4 separate regions of the Homo sapiens genome follow, and regions 1, 2 and 4 are each linked to region 3. Evidence: promoter capture Hi-C in human tissues and cell types (Jung and others, 2019). All regions are on one chromosome and are shown on one strand. Each heading gives the region's core, a stretch centred on a gene start or on the middle of the fragment in contact. The rest is flanking DNA. Distances are from core to core; before and after follow the strand shown.

Region 1 (3,134 bases), core at 334-2,833, 410 kb before region 3:
AGAAGTTTTTTTAAAAAAAGACATACCTAAGCCAAGCACAAAATTTCCATCATTAGAATCAATCGACATAAAATTACTATCAAATTGCTGTAAGGTGTCTAGATGCTTACACCAAATTTCCTTATCTTGTCCTAGGCTGTTAAACAGTTCCAGCACCAACATTCATCTGCACCAACATTAGTCTGCTGACTACACTTTACTGAGTCCTGGCTCAGCCAGGCTGCCCAGTTTAAATCACTGTAGGCAAGAGAGCAAATGTGGACTGGAATGGGAGAGAAGATGGAATGTCAATAATTGCTGCTCAGCTGTCTACAACTTTAGGTCTCCCTTTAATTAACATAGGAAACATATCAAGGGTTCTCAGTGCCTAACTGTTTCTTCTCCTCTTGAAGAAATAGGGCAGTTCCAAGTCCAGATGTGAAGAAAAAAGTGTTACTAACCTCTGGAGTTAAGCTCCAAGGTTCAACCCACAACCTGATGTAAATGCTACATAATGCAGCACATACAAAAAAGGGAAAAAAATGCAACGAACATAATAAACACCCTACTCTTTACTCCAGAATTCCCTCATTTATAATTACTGTACATGTTAAGATCCCACCAAGATAACTACCTCATTATGCTTAAAGTACACTGACCCTTTAATAAAACTTGAGACATTTGCTGAAGCTGTAAAGGGGAGGGAGAGTGGTGAGGGAGGGTGTTGAAAGAAGAGTAGCTCACTGTTAGAACATGAGAGAATAAGCAAAGGAATGCAAATTGAGACAGCTAAATCAAAAGAAATTATGACCTAACTTGAAGAGCTTTAAGAATCTGGGTAATATTTCTAGTTAAAGTGACTCCTTAAACTAAACTGGTATAAAAGTTATCTTCTCCATCATTTTGGTATTTTCTATAACGCTTGAGTTTATTTTCCCATAAAAAGTCTAACCTAAATTTCCTGATTTTACTAGACAAAGCAGCTAACATGAAATTACTTAATGTTTAATATGCCCTTTTTCCAATGTAACTTTGATACACTTTCTGTTAATAAGTGGAATCTGTATTCCCTCTCCTTGAATCTGGGTGGGCTTCTGACTCTGGCTAAGGGACTTTCTAGGCTAGGAAATAAAAGGCAATTACCAAAAGAAAAATAAACCAAAAAGAGTTGACCAAGATTCCCTCGGTTTTCTTGGAACTCAGCCACTATACTGATTACTACAGAAATACAAAGACTCTTACAGAGACTATTGTGAACAACATTTGCTAACAAATTTGAAAAGCTGGAATAAATTGATAAATTCTTGGACACATACAACCTATCAAGATTGAATCATGAAGAAACAAGAAAACCTCAATAAGCCAATTGATGAATTTTACAAAAAACATTTTAAGAAGTAATACCAATTCTACTGCAAACTCTTCTACTCAAAAATATTGAAGAGGGGAGAATATTTCCAAAATCATTTTACAAGGGCAGTATTACCTTTACAACAAAACCAGACAACAATGCAACAAAAAAAGAAAACTACAGGCCAATATCACTGAGGAACGTAAACACAAATATCCTCAACAAAATACTAGCAAACTGAATTAAACAACACATTCAAAAGATCAATTACCATGATTAAGTAGGATTCATCCCAGAGATGCAAGGAGAGTTCAACATATGCAAATCAATAAATGTGATATATCACATTAACAGAACAAAGAAGAAAAAACCATATGGTCTCATCTCAATAGATGAAGAAAAAGCATTTGATAAAATTCAACATCTCTTCATGATAAAAATTCCCAAAAAATAGGGTACAGAAGGAATATATCTCAAAATAATAAAAGGCCATATATGACAAATCCACAAACTAACATCGAGCTGAGGGAAAATGTGAAGGCCTTTCCTCTGCGATCTGAAACAATACAAGGATGCCCACTCTCACCACTTTTATTCAACATAGTACTGAAAGTCCTGGCCAGAGCAATTAGACAAGAGAAATAAAAGGCACCCGAATCGACAAGGAAGATGTCAAATTAGTTTCGTTGACAGATGACATGATCTTATAACCCAAAGACTTCACCAAAAAGCTTTAAGAACTGATAAATTCAGTAAAGTAGCAGGATGCAAAAACCAACATATGAAAAGAAGTAGCATTTATATACACCAACAACGAACAATGTATAAAATAAATCAAGAAAGCAATCACATTTACAACAGCTACAAAAAATATCAAATACCTAGGAGTCAATTTAACCAAAGAAGTAAATGATCAACATAAGGAAAACTATAAAACATTGGTGAAAGAAATTGAAGAGGGGCTGGGTGTGGTGGCTCATGCCTGTAATCCCAGCACTTTGGGAGGTCAAGGCAGGCGTATCACTAGAGGCCAGGAGTTCATGACCAGCCTCACCAACATGGCGAAACCCCATCTCTACTAAAATTACAAAAATTTGCCAGGCATGGTATCACATGCCTGTAATCCCAGCTACTCGAGAAGCTGAGCCATCAGAACAGCTTGAACCCGGGAGGTGGGGGATGCAGTGAGCCGAGATCGTGCCACTGCATTCCAGCCTGGGTGACAAAGTGAGACTGTCTCAAAAAGAGAGAAAAAAAAGGAAGAAATTGAAGAGGACACACATACACAAGTTGAAAAATATTTCATGTTAAAGGATTGGAAAAATTAATATTGTTAAAATGACAACAATACCCAAAGCAATTTACAGATTCAATGGAATCCCTATCAAAATACCAATGACATTCTTCGCAGAAATAGGAAAAAAAAAATCCTAAAATTTATATGGAACCACAAAAGACCCTGAATAGCCAAAGCAATCCTGAGCAAAAAGAACAAAGCTGGAGACATTACACTACCTGACTTCAAAAATTACAATAAGCTATAGTAACCAAATCAGCATGGTACAGGCATAAAAACACACAGGGCAATGAAACAGAATGGAGATCTCAAATATAAATCCATACATTTACAACCAATTCATTTTTGACAAAGCCTCCAACCTCCAAGATCATGCAGTGGGGAAATGATAGTTCCTTTAATACCTGGTGCCGAGAAAACTGGATAACTGTATGCAGGAGAATGAAATTACATCTCTCTCTCTCTCTCTCTCACCATACACAAAATAGCAAATCCACATGGAATTAA
Region 2 (2,836 bases), core at 84-2,583, 430 kb before region 3:
TGCTGTGCTGTGCTCCCCATACTGGTACCTGGCATGTGGCAGACCTCCCAGGGCACTGAGTGAATGAAGTGGTAGAGTCAATCTCTCTTTCAGACAACTCAATCCCAGGTACAAAGTTGTTTACCAAGCACAGGAAGTGGCAGAGAGAGGGACAAAGGAAAGGAGTAAACATGGTATCAAGAGAGAAAGCATCAACAGAGGACCAGGCTGGAAGAGTCAAAGACAGGTTCATAAAGATGATGAATTCTCATCAGGACAGGAAGGATGTTTGCAGCCTACAGACTCCTATGTGGAACTGACAGAGGCATAAAATGTCCTTCCTGGCTTTTTGATCCAAGCCCAGAATTCCTGACAGGGCCACTGTAAATGACAGTACCCTACCTACACAAGGATATCCAGCTGAGGGTGAAAAGAGTCCACGTTCTAGTCTTTAAACCTTGTGCTCTGGGGTGGGGAACTTGCCTAAAGGAAGGAGCACCTTTTAACAATTCTCTCAGAAGTGACTTCTGCAGCTTCTTGCCAACACACAAATCCATGAACTATAAAGGATGGAAGCTAGCACCTCTGTGAAATTCCCACAAAAGCTCCTGGTTCCCTGTCCAGCTCTGCCAGATCAACACCCAGTACGCACCAACACCAGTTATCCTTGGTAAACCACAGGTCAGTAAGTCTCCTTGCTCCACAGCTCACTGCTACTACCAATTCAAGAGGCGGCTCTCTCTTGTTAGAGCTGCGATCAGTGTCTACAGTGGTCTCTAGCCATCTGCCTCAGGTCACTTGGTCTACTAACCTTCCATAACCTGATGTTGAATATAAGGCAGTAAGGAACACAAATCATTTCTCATAATTGTCACCATTCACATCCTAAGAAAAAGCCCAGCTTCTCCAGTTGCCTTCTGTAGTGACCCCATGAAAAAGTCACTTCATCTCTGCTGAACTCACAGCACACATATAGGAGACCTGCAGCAAACCAGTCTCAAAGAGGCTTAGCCCAGAACTGTGGTATCTGTTAGGGAAAGGCAGGTTTCTGTCTTGGAGTTTCACGTAAGAGAGAGAATCTTATTCCATTCACTTGATCATGCTGCCTGAAGAGACTCAGAGTGACTTCAAAGTGTGGATCTGAGTGACACAGCCTTTGCATACAGTAGTACCTCATGAGCAAACCAGCTTTCAACTTTCACTCTCCATGAAACAGTGAAAAGCAATAAACACACAGATATTACCTTCTGTTTCATTTTTTGCTTTCTCATTACGCATCCATATCGTACTCTGTCCTACTGCTCATTCTCTAGCACCCTTATAAATTTCTCTGGATAGTGGCAAACATTATAAATATACAAAGTGCTTAAATATGTGGTGCTAAATGCATATACTCAGTAACTTAAGTAATTTTGAGAACTAAATATCTGGTCTGGATAACTCAACAAATAATTCTGAGAACTACGTATTTAGTGAGGAATGTAAACTCAACCAACCCTACAGTGCTGCCATATGGAAGTGCCCCATTTTCATATCACACACACGTACATTTAGAATAAAAATGACTGTCTCTAAAAGGATAATAGGACATGGGTTTTTAATATGCCACTAAAGGTACCAGAATTAAATTTAAATTTCTCATCGTGACTTTGAAGACACATCTATCTGGTCCTATGAAATACAAAACAATAATTGGCTACTCTGAAACCTGTCTCTCATAACCCAAGTGTCAGAAATACACAACTTTTCTGATTAAATTCTCATAGTAGACATTCATGGTAAAAGAATTCTTTTCAAGGTTAAAATAAAAGCCAGTGTTCACATCATGCCTGTATCTTATCAGGAACATAACATTAAATGTGCAAGGTCATTTTACTACTGATGAATAAAGATTTCCTTGTTCTGAGGGAGAAAGGAAGGTGTAAATAAAAATACTGCTATGAACATCCTTCTAGCTGTCATCAAAGGTATTTATGACCACTGCATAGAAACAGACAAAATTTCCTTTAACTGAAACATTTTGATAAGCACAACCAAACTTCCTGGCCATCAACAAAACTATACCAATTATACTTGATGCATAATGTTACAGAGTATCATTTATCTCACATTAATGAATAAAATTAATCTTATGATGATCAATTTAATGACCAAAAAAACTTCCACAGGTATTTTACTGTTGTTATGATGGTTTAATTTCCCTGATTACTCACTAGTGAGATGAGGCTATACTTTTGTTCATTTCTGAAAGTTTTTATTATTTTGCTTGGTTCCATTTAGCCACTTACCTTTTAGACAGTACTTTCAAACAAATGACCTTCACCACTGTTCGAAATAGGTCATGTGACTCTTTCCTCCATGTTCATTCTTTCATAAACTGTTCATTCATTTATTCATGAACATCTGAAGTGCCTACTACATGCATGATGCTAGTGACACAATAACGGTTAAGATGCAATTCTGACCCTCAGAAGTCTTAAAGAGTCTCACAGGAGAAAGACATGACAATGAACATGTGCAAATGAGTATTAAGTGGTTTGTGGGGAGGAGGGGACAAAAAGGGATATTTTATATTTTTAGCTATAGTCTCACACTTAATTTTCAGATTTATTACTAGAAGAGATATCTGAAGCAACACACATTGTTGACACTGTTTATCTCCTTACTGCTTCCTAAGAATTACCAAATATAATCATCATTACTGATTCTTCTATAGTATAGTGTTTCTTTTTCTCATTGTGTTTCTCTTTCAGATACTCTTCAGCTTTAGAAAACCAAGGGATTCCTACCATTCTTCTTGGAGGCTTTCATCATTGGGTTATCAAAAAGAAAGATCCAGAAATTCAAATCCTGTTCT
Region 3 (3,259 bases), core at 88-2,587:
AGCCCTGTTTTGCTGGAGTCAGCTGAGGTATCAGATGGGGGTCAGTGGCTAGGTCTGTGAACCTGAAGCCACACTCCATCAGTGACCCGCACTGGAGAGACACAAACACCTCAGGCTCCTTAGGAGGTCAAGCGGCCCTTCCCAGCCCTCCCTAGCCCCCGCCTTCTAGAATCATTCTGAATAGCTAACCAGGAGGCTGGGCCCCGTGTGGATCCGCCTCCGCTGGAAAAGCCGCTGCTGGAAGTGCTCCAATCCAGAGCAGGATACCTGGGGGAGGAACGGGTTAAGCGCAAAGGGGAAAGGGGCAGCGGGTGCTGAGACGCAGAAGGTGCGGGGACTTCTACAGAGCAGGGAATCTGGGCCCGGATGAACTGATGCCCTGGCCTCTTTCCTCCAGGGACAAGGTCGGTCTCAGGAAATCAAGGTATCTTCAAAGGGACACAAGGGAGCGCAGTGCCGATGAGACCGGGGCAGAGCCACAGTCTGGCGGTGCAGGCTGGGGGTCCGAGGCGGGGGACACTGGCTAGCAGTGCTGCCAGGGTCGTGTGTGCACTGGGCAGAGGGAAAGGAGGGGAAGAAGGGAAGGGGAAGAAGGGGAAGAAGGGAGTGTGTTCGGTTGGGAGGACCGGTCCAGACAGAGGGGAGAGGGGGCCACTTCGCGAGTGGTGTATCGCTGGTTGAATTCTCATAAGTTAGAGATAGCAGGCAGGGGTTAGAAGGACAAGACAGGGTCAGGACCAGGAGTTAGAGGCGCCAGGCTCCTCTCTGGGTAGAGAAACCGAGGAACTGGGGGCGGGGAGGACTGATGGGTGCGAAAGCGGGCCGGGTCCAAATGAAGGCGCGCGCCCCGGGGTGGGGGCCGGGGTGGGGGGAATGAGGGAGGCTGCAGGGCTGGGGACCAGGGCAGGTGCAATCCGGAAAGAGGAGGCGGGAAGGAATTGGGGGGCCCTGAGGAGCCAGCGCAAGCCGGGTGGGGGCACGTCCCCTCCCCCGGAGAAGGTGCGGGGCTGGGGCTGCGGCGCGGACCCGACCTGGAGGCCGAGGCTGTGCGGGAGGTGGGGGTGGGGAGGCTGCAGGTGCCCGGCGCCCAGGTGCGAGGTGCAGGGGGCGGCGGGGCAGGCGGCTGCGGGCGGCAGGCCACTCACCTGTCTCCTCCGGCCGGGGCCGCGGGGGCGGCGGGGCGGCCGGGCCGGGCCGGGCAGGGGCTACGGGGGCGCGGAGCCCCGGGCGCACCGGGGTCGGGAGGCGGCTGCGGGTCCGGGCGGGGGCTGCTCCCTCGGCCGGCCGGCCGGGCGGTCAGTCAGCGACGCGGGCGCGGAGAGAGCGCTGCGAGGCTGCGGCCGGCGCGCGGAGACAACGCCGCTTTATCGGGTCGGAAACAGCCGCTCCGCGCCGCTTCCGCTGACGCAGCGCCGGCCCCTGCGCCTCATGACTATGCAGCACCCGCCGCCGCGGGACGGGGATTCGGGGGGCGGGGTCTGCGCCGCGCGCGCTCATTGGCCTCCGCTGCCGCCCACCCCGCCCCCGAACGGCCGCCCCGCCCCCGCCGCGCCCCTGCCCCGCCCCCGCGCGCACCGTGGCTCCCGCCCCCGTCTCGCCATGGCCCCGCCCCCAGCCATAATCCAGCCCCGCCCCCGCCCTCCTCCCGCTACGCCCCCGGCCCCGGCCCCGGCCCCGGCCCCTCCGCACCGAGCGTCCGCCCTCTCTCCCCTAAAGCGCTGGCCCGCAATCCACCCCATCCCTCTCTGCAGCCGCAGGAGGTGGCCCCCGCCTGTCCCCACCTTCTCTCCCCGCTCCTCTCGCCACTCTGTCGCAGAGGGGTCCGGCTAGCCACGAGGCCCCGGCCCCCGGCAGCCCAGCCCCTTGGCAAGCACCCTCCCGCCCCCTCCGCCCCTGCCCGTGGCGCGGCGACATGGGCCCCATCCAGGTGCTGCAGCCCCTCCTCCGCTGCAGGAGAAAACTCTCCTGTTTTCCCCTCCCTGCCACCCTCCGAAGACCTCCTACCTGGTCCCGGACCACGCCCCCGTCCCCAACTCCCCCAACGCCCCGCGCTCTGCGGGTCCCCTCTCCAACCTGGAGAGCGGGGCAGGACGAAGACCCGACCCGGAGCTTCCTGGAGGCTGGGCCTCCCTCTCAGGCTTGGCCCTGGCCAGGGACACTGATCCGTCTCTCCCCACGTGTAGAAGGGCCACAATCCCTAGGGCAGGACTGCTGGGAAACCCCATCAAGACAAGGTCTGGGGAGGCGGCTTTAACAGACAGATGTGATGGGCTGAGGCCAACCCTGTTAACGTCGCAGCCCTGCACCCTTGCCAGGGTTTAAGTTGCTTTGGAGGAATTACTTCATTTCTCAGAACCTTGGCGTCCTCATCTGTAAAATAGAAATCGTAAGATCCATCTCACCTGTTGCTAAAGGAATTTAGAAGTGAAGTGCAGAGCAGAGCCTCCAAGAGCATCGGAAATGGGAAAATCTGACCATATCAAGTGTTGACAAGGAAATGGAGCAACTGGAACTGCCAGACACTGTTGGTGGACATGCAAAGTGGTACAACTTTCAAAATCTTTTTGAAAGGCCTTGATTACCCAGCAATTCTGCTCCTAGATACACACCTAACATTGTGTTTCTGTTGATAGCAGCAGTGTTTATAATTGCCCCAAACTGGAAACTACTGAAATGCTCATCAGCCGTTAAATGGATACATAAATTGTGATATATTCACACAGTGGAATGACAGCAATGACAGTGAATAATCAACTACACACAACAACATGGATGACTCTCACAAATGATGTTGAGGAAAAGAAGCCAGAGGATAAAAAGCCATATTTGTTTCCATGTGGATAAAGTGGTAGAAGGTGTATATGGGGGTAGCAGTCAGGATAGTGGTTACCCTTGGAGGGAGGGGTGCCAGAGCCAGGAAGCAGGGCACAGAGGACGTGTCTGGGGGCTGGCTGTGTTCTGTGTCTTGGTCTGAGTGCTGGTTACAGTGTGCTCAGTTTATGATGACTTTTCCAGCTGTGCAGTCAAGATGCATGTGCCTGTGGGGCACGGTGATTCACGCCTGTAATTCTAACACTTTGGAAGGCCAAAGCGGGTGGATTGCTTGAGCCCAGGAGTTTGAGACCAGCCTGAGCAACATGGTAAGACCCTATCTCTATTAAAAAAAAAAAAAGACGTGTGTGTTTTTCCATGTGTATGCAGTATCTCAACAGAGGGTTAGTAAGTACATCAATGGTCTGTAGACAGTCCAAAGCAGCAT
Region 4 (2,923 bases), core at 210-2,709, 340 kb before region 3:
TCCCGAGTGGCTAGGATTACAGAGGCCTGCCACCACGCCCAGCTAATTTTGTATTTTTAGTAGAGACAGGGTTTCACCATGTTGGCCAGGCTGGTCTCCAACTCCTGACCTCGTGATCTGCCCGCCTCGGCCTCCCAAAGTGCTGGGATTACAGACGTGAGCCACCGCGCCTGGCCTAACCCAACATTTCTTAATCCATATCCTAACAATTTAACTCATCTATGAAGCTCCCCAATGTTCAAAATACACAACCACTTTATACCAATTTTCCCTTCTTCTAAACTCAGTCTATCAATAGTTCCTGCACTTAACACAAGCTGCAACCTATATTCTGAAAGAACACAGGCCAGAAGTAACTTTCTGAAAAACCAAAAATACATTAAGAATGTGAATATGTTATGAAAATCACCAGAGCAAACAAAAGCTTCTTTATGCTTCAAAATAATTTTTTAGCCAAAAATATTCTAATACTAGACTGGCACTGCTCAAAGGTGGGAATACTGTGTCTCATTCACTATCTCTGCACTGATGCTTAGTACACGGTTTGCCATCTAACTGGTACTAAGCTACTGACTAAACCAATACCCTAAAAGAGGCTGTAAAATTATTGAATTTTAAAAACCAATATTAACAGTAATAACTTGCCCATTTTGTATGCATAGCAAATGACGAATATAAACTGTTTTCCAGTTTTTAGATCAATATAAATCAGGGAATGATGAAGATTAGCCCTTAAATTCCCACAGTAGAAATAACTACACTGTTAGGAACTGTACTTATGAACATCGAGTTGATCCTGCCCAAAAAAAAAATCGTTTTTAATTATTTATATGACTAGCCAAGCACTAAGAACTATATATCACATTTACAAAAGAGTTACAATTCACAATAATCTCTACTAAACAGAAGAGAAAAAACAGATTAGAGAGTTTAAGGAGCTTGGTCAACATCATACAGGGAGCAAGGATCAGATATGAATGCAAAGCAAAAATCTGTCTACAGCTTGTGCTCTTCACCGCTGTTCTATTCTGCATTGTAAAAAATATCCCCACAAAATTATATTGTGTGAAAGGCTTAAAATGTCAAAGAGACATTATTCTACTTAAACTAATCAATAGGCATAGTCAATACATTCAACACAAGACAACTCTTCTATCATACTTGAGAAAACTAATGGCTATCATGATATATGGTAAGGGCCATGTTGTCTACCTGAGAAAAACACCAAAAGAAACTATGGGAACAGACACCAAAAAAAGGATCTATCTATAAGCCAAATTCAAGAAATAATTCGAGCAGCAACTCCTATGGGGGCTGGAAGAGGTAACTGATCAGGGACGCAAAATCATTTGAGCATCATGGCCCAGCTGAAACTGGTGACCATTACCTGAGTAACAGAAGCAGTTTGCGAAGTGAACAGCTTCAGGTTTAGATAAGGAAAAATAAGCACATTGCACCCTGTCACTCCTCTTGAAAGCAACTAGAAAGCCTGAACAGAGTAACTGCAGAAGCTATTTGAGGACTCTGAAAAGTAAACAGTAGCAGGTGGATGAGGGAGGAATAGAATTCAAACCACCACCACATCAGCATATTTAAACAAGACCCAGAGTCTCCTCCTAACATAACATCCAAAAAGTCGGGGATACAATCCAAACTTACTCTGCACAGGAGGAACCAGGAAAACCTCAATTCCCATAGAAAAAGAAAATCAAGACAAGCCAATACTGAGATGACACAAAGGTCAGAATTATCTCACAAAGACTTTAAAACAGCTATTATACAAATAATCCTATAAACAAGCACACACACAATATACTTGCTATCACTAATTATCTTCCCTTTATCTCACCTCTCCACCAGAACTTCTCTATCCAAGATTACCAATGACCTCAATACTGCTAAATCCAATGGTCAATACTTAGATATTACTTCCTCTGTCAGCTGCAACTGACAGGTAATTATTCCTGCTTCCCTTCTCTTGCTTTCCAGGACACCATCTTCTCCTGGTTTTCTTCTTACCTCACAGGTGGTTTCTTTCCAGTCTCTACAGCTGTTCTTCCTCTTCTTGCAAACTTGTCAATTCTAGAGTTCCCCAAGACTCTGTCCTTTCTCTTATTTATGCTCACCTCCTAGGCAAGCTCACTTTAAAAGCTACCTTTATGCTAACTGTAGCTCAGATTTCTTCCAAAATCCCAACTTGAAAATCCAGTTGCCTGGTTGTTGTGCTAGACTGTTGTCAATTCTGCATCATTACCACCTTCTATATTCACCTGTGTGACATAGGGAAGCCAGAACTACATTTCCTACAAACCCCTTCCTGCTACAACTCAGGGTTAGAGTCAACTAATAAGGGCAACTCGTGCAAGACTGGTAAGATAAAAGAGCACACTACCCTCTGGAGGCAGCTGTAGGCTGATGTGCTGGGAGAAAAAAATAACTGACCTACTTCTGAAACTAAGACCTAGATAGAGCAGCTCCTACTAGGAATTCCCAGCAGCTTCGGAGAAACTCCAAGAACCATCCACTTCAACCACAGCAGCAGAGGCTTCAATTCTGAGACCTCTGCCCATCTCAGATGAGCTCCTGGGAAGTACACACTGTGAACAGCTGCTTCCTGGACCTTCAATTCTCCAACCCTTCCAACAGTAGTGAAGGACTATAATCCTGTGTATTTAAAAAAGTGTCTAGAGCAGCTTCTCTTTTCCTGAACAATTCCTCATGGATACACTATGCTGGGGACCAGCTTCTAGATCCTCAGAGAAGTGAAACATCAGTTAAGCGAATAAAAATGTCCAAGAGACATTTCAAAGCTCAGATATTGATCTTTCTCCTCCAAACCTTCTTTACACACTCTTCTCTATGTCAGTTCTTGGCAACTCTCTCCTTCCAGTTGTCCAGGCCAAAAAACAATGGATGTCATCCT

Evidence for each region. Contacts are between HindIII fragments. The study calls those that stand out against the background at their distance.
Region 1: a fragment that was not itself captured here is called in contact with the fragment with the promoter of SLC45A4 in region 3 in 1 of the 25 tissues and cell types used here (lymphoblastoid cells).
Region 2: a contact is called between a fragment that was not itself captured here and the fragment with the promoter of SLC45A4 in region 3, in 2 of the 25 tissues and cell types used here (dorsolateral prefrontal cortex and lymphoblastoid cells).
Region 4: a fragment that was not itself captured here is called in contact with the fragment with the promoter of SLC45A4 in region 3 in 1 of the 25 tissues and cell types used here (lymphoblastoid cells).

Annotation. Positions count from the first base shown.
Region 1 is chr8:140,898,150-140,901,283 of GRCh38, forward strand. The region is part of intron 2 of PTK2 (protein tyrosine kinase 2); the gene reads right to left. Among named protein-coding and RNA genes, the nearest start is that of PTK2, 100 kb to the right of the region's middle. The HindIII fragment of the contact is 9,283 bases long and covers 1-3,134 here.
Region 2 is chr8:140,880,835-140,883,670 of GRCh38, forward strand. All of the region lies in intron 3 of PTK2 (protein tyrosine kinase 2), which reads right to left. Among named protein-coding and RNA genes, the nearest start is that of PTK2, 120 kb to the right of the region's middle. The HindIII fragment of the contact is 9,970 bases long and covers 1-2,836 here.
Region 3 is chr8:141,306,951-141,310,209 of GRCh38, forward strand. SLC45A4 (solute carrier family 45 member 4) reads right to left here and starts at 1,338. Exons shown (of 9, transcript NM_001286646.2): 1 at 1,146-1,338. RefSeq lists silencers at 1,214-1,313, 1,334-1,573. The HindIII fragment of the contact is 10,784 bases long and covers 1-3,259 here.
Region 4 is chr8:140,967,582-140,970,504 of GRCh38, forward strand. The region is part of intron 1 of PTK2 (protein tyrosine kinase 2); the gene reads right to left. Among named protein-coding and RNA genes, the nearest start is that of PTK2, 32 kb to the right of the region's middle. The HindIII fragment of the contact is 4,557 bases long and covers 1-2,923 here.